Linked DNA regions of Homo sapiens: region 1 is linked to region 2. The links are contacts of gene promoters, found by promoter capture Hi-C in blood cells and fetal thymus (Javierre and others, 2016). All regions are on one chromosome and are shown on one strand. The core of a region is centred on a gene start or on the middle of the fragment in contact, and the rest is flanking DNA. Distances in the headings are between cores, read along the strand shown. Region 1 overlaps PTK2 (protein tyrosine kinase 2). Region 2 holds the start of DENND3 (DENN domain containing 3).

Region 1 (2,894 bases), core at 116-2,615, 460 kb after region 2:
AGGAGGTGGAGGTTGCAATGAGTCAAGATCATGCCATTGCACTCCAGCCTGGGCGACAGAGCAAGATTCCGTCTCGAGGTTAAAAAAAAAAAAAAGGATGCATCTTATAGTGGAAGACATCTTAAAATCCGAAAAATGTCATATCAGGTTAAGATAAACTTTGCTTTACCAATAACCACCATTTATTGACTGTCATCCCTTTACCAAGTTCTGTGGCAGTCCTTTTTCATGTATTATCAGTTCTCATGTGAACCTCACAGGACTGGTGGTGGTATCATTTCTCAGTTGACCAAGGCTCACAGAGATTAAGCAGTTTGTTCAAGGTTACACAGCCTCCACATAGCTGAGCTGTGCTTGGCCGCAGGCTTGGCTGAGCACATACTTGACTCAAAGGCACTCGCCTCCAAAGCTGAAGCTTCGTTAGATGTAGATACATTGTTGTCTTCTCAGAGTCATCAGAAAGTTAGTCCAGGGTAAGAAAAAATGTCATCTCCAGGCCCAGAGGGATAGCCTGCAGCTTAGAGGGCACAGGTTTGCCAGTGTTCATTGAGGAGGTGACCAGAGGGTGAATGGGCAGCCACTGGCACAAACTAGCCTGCTCTCTGTGGCCAAGCCTGCCCTCTGTGGCCATAGTGAAAGTACCAACTGGGCTAGGGATGCCTCTGCCCTTAGGGTTGGTGCCCAGAGTTCATGCCAGTGGCTTTTAAGTGCCTGGGAATCAGGAACTTCCTCAGTTCACCAGGCCTCCAAGCCCCAGGATGCCTCCTGACAGTTCTGTTAAAGACACACTGAGTCTTCTCCAAGGAAAATTGAGGAAGGACACACCCTTCCCAATATTGGCTTCTTTCAATAAATTTCTAAAAAGGAGCCAGACATGGTGGCGCACCTCTATGACTATAGTCCCAGCTACTCGGGAGGCTGAGGAAGGAGGATCACTTCAGCCCAGAAGTTTGAATCTGGCCTGCGCAACATAGTGAGACCCCATCTCTTTAAAAAAAGAAAAGGGGACAGAATGAGATTAATGAATTATTTATTTTCATAAGCCAAAAGAACAGACTTTCAAAATGGCTTGTATTACAATGAAAAACCAACTTTACAGGTAGATCGGTACCACCTTAGAATTCTGACATCATTATGAAACATCTTTCACAGCTGGAATAACATAATGAATACATACAATTAGGATAGGGTATGAAGCAAATTGAAATCTTGAAAATAATATGTGTACTTAAAATATATTAAGTAAAGATTCCCGCCCCCCGCCCCCCTGAGACAGAGTCTCACTCTGTTGCCCAGGCTGGAGTGCAGTGGTGCGATCTTGGCTCACTGCAAGCTCCGCCTCCCGGGTTCACGCCATTCTCCTGCCTCATCATCCCAAGTAGCTGGGACTACAGGCACCCGCCACCAGGCCCATCTAATTTTTTTTTTTTTTTTTTTTTTTGGGTATTTTTAGTAGAGACGGGGTTTCACCGTGTTAGCCAGGATGGTCTTGATCTCCTGACCTTGTGATCCGCCCGCCTCGGCCTCCCAAAGTGCTGGGATTACAGGCATGAGCCACCGCACCCGACCTAAGTAGATTTTTAAATAACATGAAATATACACCTCTGTTTCTTCATTGTCTGCTTGGTAGAGGTCATTGAATCCATCCTAAAAGAACAGTATTGTTCTAATACTGCAATGCAGCTAGGCACAGTGGCTCACGCCTGTAATTCCAACACTGAGAGGCCAAGGCAAGTGGATTGCTTGAGACCAAGAGTACCAGACCAGCCTGGCCAACATGGCAAAACCCTGTCTCTACTAAAAATACAAACATTAGCTGTGCATAGTAGTGTGACCCTATAATTCCAGCTGCTCAGGGGGCTGAGGCACAAGAATCGCTGGAATCCAGGAGGCGGTGGTTGTGGTGAGCTGAGATCACACTACTGCACTCCAGCCTGGGCGACAGAGCGAGATTCTGCCTAAAAAAAACTAATACTAAAATATTTACTTTTATGTATAACTAAAATAATTCATCCAAATAACAGCCAAAATCAGTCTCAATTTTTCCTAGGTAGCACTGCATTTTGGTTCTTAACTGAGTCTTTAAGCATCAACCTAAGTGGTTGGAATTGGCTACATCTATAGAGGGTTTATCAACTGCCTGCCAAGGAGCTTCCAAGTTGTCAAGCTCCAGAAAATAGAAAACCATTAGGATGTCTTTCCAAACAGCTTTCCCTTCTGGAATGTCACTGTGAATGGTCCCTAGAAGCATTATGACAGTGCCCCTCTACCACAATAATTGGGCAAAGGGTAAAGTAGAAAGGAACAGAAGCTTTAAACAGGTGACAACCTCCCTAGAATTACAGAATTGTCTATTTCTTCTTGATGAAACACCCTGTGGCCCCCTCCTCAAGAAGCCCTGTTGATGTAGTTTGAACTGGTACATCCTATGAAGTTAAACAGAAGACCACACTGTGACTCTCAGTGCAGAAAATAAAATACAGGAAGTCATCTCTTGGAAATGGTGTGGTTATAGTAGGATAGCGCCCTGGCTTGAGCTTTAGAGAAAACACATTAAATAAAACTGTTCAGTTTCAAGTAGTAGAACCTAATCATAAGAATCAGCTCAAAAAAGGGGTTTCTGTTCTACTTTTGTTTTTTGTTTTTAAAATAAGCTCCCAATGTGTGTGTGTGTGTGTGTGTGTGTGTGTGTGTGTGTGTGTGTGTGTGTGTTGTTGTTTTTTTTTTTTTTTTTTTTTTTTTTTGAGACACAGTGTCGCTCTGTCACCCAGGCTGGAGTACAGTGGCACAATCTCAGCTCACTGCAACCTCTGCCTCCGAGGTTCAAATGACTCTCCTGCCTCAGCCTCCCGAGTAGCTGGGATTACAGGGATGCACTACCATTACCCTGCTAA
Region 2 (2,760 bases), core at 261-2,760:
TGAGGAGACCACAGCGGCAACTAGGTCACTTCCTATTCGAAGAAAAAGGAGGAGATGCCATCTGGCAAATTCGAGGTAGGGAGACAAATCAATCGATGACGTTGCGAGGAGACAGAGGTCAAACGGGATCTACTGACATGACAGGGCGTTGAAGGGAAGGAAAAGTTGAGGGAAACGAGGAAACTATTTCCATAGGAGAATGCTTTTTCACTGAAGTCGAAACTGGCTTGGTACTGACGCCCAGCAGGGGAAACTCCCCGGACACTCACAGACATTCATCTGGTTACTTGCAGGAACATCTGCCTTTCCTGGTGACACCCTCTGCCCTGCAGTCTTCATTTTCCCTGGATAGCCCAGCGTCATTTAAATACTCAGAAGCCTCTCTGCCTTTCTATGCTGTTGTCTGCAAAGAGATGAACGGACCTGTGCAGACGGCTGGCCAGTGACGCCGGGATCTCTAGGTAACATGACCCAGTCACGGTGTCACAGACAGGCGGACCAGGAGGAAACCAGAGACACAGATGGATTCCAGGGAAAGCCAGCGTTACAGAATTAAGAAAAGCTGGGGAAGAAAAAGGAAAACGAGAATTTCCAAAACTGCCGCTTTCCCAGCAGAAGGGAGATGAAGTTGTCACTTTGGCTGCGAGGGTGCAGAGATGGAGGAAGGGTTGGGGGTGGGGGTGGTACCGCAAGGGAGAAAAATAGCTATAGGCTTCATCGCAAAGGGGTTCATGCAGAATACGCGAGGCCGGCGGCTAACTCTAAGATTGCTCTCTCGTTATTCTGTGCCTGGTGCAAAACCCACTACTCAGGGGACAACACATCCCAGCATAAAGAATGAAATCATTTCAGCAGCGAGGGCTGGGCCCGCTAGACCGTGAGGCTCCGGCGGCTTCCGCCCGTTGTCTGGTGCACCCCACCTTCAGAAGCACCTGCCCAAGATGGGAGCGACTGAAGAGAGAGGCCCCAGAGACTCTCCGAGGGGCGGCACCCCCAGATTCCCGGCCGGCGGACCAAGTTCGCAGCTCTCAAAAGACATGTCTCACACCAAGGGCCCCGGGCGGGGAGAGGAGAGAAGAGGGGAGGGGAGCAGGGCGCTGCTCCAGGGCACCTGCCTGAGCTCGGGCGCGATCCCCGGCCACAGGCGCGCGGGGTCACCGCCGGGGGACCGGGACTCAGCCCTCGGAAAGTCCGCGCCAACCCACAGGGCACCCGGGCGCCCGCTCTCCGACTGCTGTCCCGGCTGCCGACTCGTGGCCCACGTCCGCCTCAGTTTCCCCGCCCCTCACCTGCTCGAGACTTCGGAGACTGTCCCGGGGGGCGCCCAGCAGCGCGCAGAGCTCCAGCAGCCCCGAGGGCAGCGACAAGTGCGGCGACGCGGCCTCCGCCATGGCTGCCCGCCGCCCGCCGCCAGTACCGCACTCGGGCGCCTCAGCCGCGCAGTCGCCCGCAGACCCCTGGGGACCAGCCGCGCCGCCTGGGGGCCGGGGGCGCTGCGAGCGCCGTCTGCGGGGCGGGGCTGGAGGCGGGGCCTGGAGGGGCGGGGCCCGAGCCGAGGCGGGGCCTGGAGAGCCCCAGAGGATACCGCGGGGAGACAGAGTTTGGGGGCGGGGCTTGACTGGGCGGGGAGGTTCTGGGCGGGGCCTGGAGTGGCGTGCCCGGCCCTAGGGACCGGGACTTGGGGGCGGGGCCGGTCCTAGGGCGGGTGCTGCTGGAGACCCGCGCGCGGTCGTCATTTCCTAACCCGCCTGCGGGCCCTGGCGCGTGCGCGGCGTCGGAGCAAGCGGCCCCTTCCTTCGGCCCCGCCCAGCCCCGCCGGCCGCCCGCTCCCTGGGGAACCGAGGGAGGAATGGGCGGGGTCCTCAGGTGCCCGGCGACGTCATCCAGCCCCCAAGGCTCCAGGACGCAAAGGGTCCCCTGATCTGGCAGTCCCTGGACCTACCCTGGAGAGCGTGGGGGGACAAAGGCCGGACGCGCCGCCCGCTGCCGCCTCCAGGAAGCCCTCCCTTGCCAGGACAGTGGAGTTGGCCGGGTGTGGACAGCAGGAAGGGCCGGCGGGAAGGGGGGGTGGAAAGAGCCACTCCTGGTTAATAACTCTGCGGGGTTAACCTAGGGCCGGCCATACTCAAGTACGGACTTGAGTAAAATTCAGCAGGAAAAGGAGCAGGGTGGGCGCCGCTAGAGGGAGGCTTCAGGACTGAGGGTCAGAGGCCCAAGGCCTGGCAGGGCCCTTCCCTGGTCAGCTCCAGGCTTGGCCTGATGCCCGGTGGGCCACGGGCCTCTTCCAGCCTCAGGCTGACCCCAGAGAAAGAGGACAGCCCACAAGCCCGGGAGGCCGGCTTGCTGCCTGGTCATTGCTGCAGAGCCTGGAGGGGGCCTGCGCTCAGTCCCCGCTGACCGTCCCCTCCCTTGACCCTGCCATAGCCATCTGTGTAACCCAGGGGAAATTATTCCAAAGGGACTTCCACTTCTGATAATCTATGATTCTATTTTCTAAAAAACAAAACTCTAAAATGCTTAATGTCAAACATCTGTCATCAGCTGAACAGGAAAAGGAACAGTAAGTACAAAGCAAGGCAACATCAGAAAAGGGAGCCCTGAGGAATTTCTCCCTCCTTCCCTGAGCCGGGTGAGGCCGTGACTGCAGCCTGACTCACAGGTTTTATTTCACTTATTAACCTAAAGATGGTGAGGATCTGCTGGTTCTCCCCCAGGCCTGGAGGCTGCCTACCATCGGTGGCTCTCATCGGTGAGCTGAGG

The links. Contacts are between HindIII fragments. The CHiCAGO score rates a contact against its expected background, and 5 or more counts as called.
Region 1: a fragment that was not itself captured here is called in contact with the fragment with the promoter of DENND3 in region 2 in 2 of 17 cell types (erythroblasts and endothelial precursors); the score reaches 7.6 in erythroblasts.

Annotation. Positions count from the first base shown.
Region 1 is chr8:140,670,307-140,673,200 of GRCh38, reverse strand. The region is part of intron 32 of PTK2 (protein tyrosine kinase 2); the gene reads left to right. Among named protein-coding and RNA genes, the nearest start is that of AGO2, 36 kb to the right of the region's middle. The HindIII fragment of the contact is 1,896 bases long and covers 418-2,313 here.
Region 2 is chr8:141,127,339-141,130,098 of GRCh38, reverse strand. DENND3 (DENN domain containing 3) reads right to left here and starts at 1,510. Exons shown (of 23, transcript NM_001352890.3): 1 at 1,290-1,510. The coding sequence starts at 1,391. DENND3-AS1 (DENND3 antisense RNA 1) reads left to right here. Exons shown (of 2, transcript NR_183310.1): 1 at 1-75. RefSeq lists enhancers at 419-1,249, 2,083-2,760 and a silencer at 1,105-1,964. The HindIII fragment of the contact is 7,380 bases long and covers 1-2,760 here.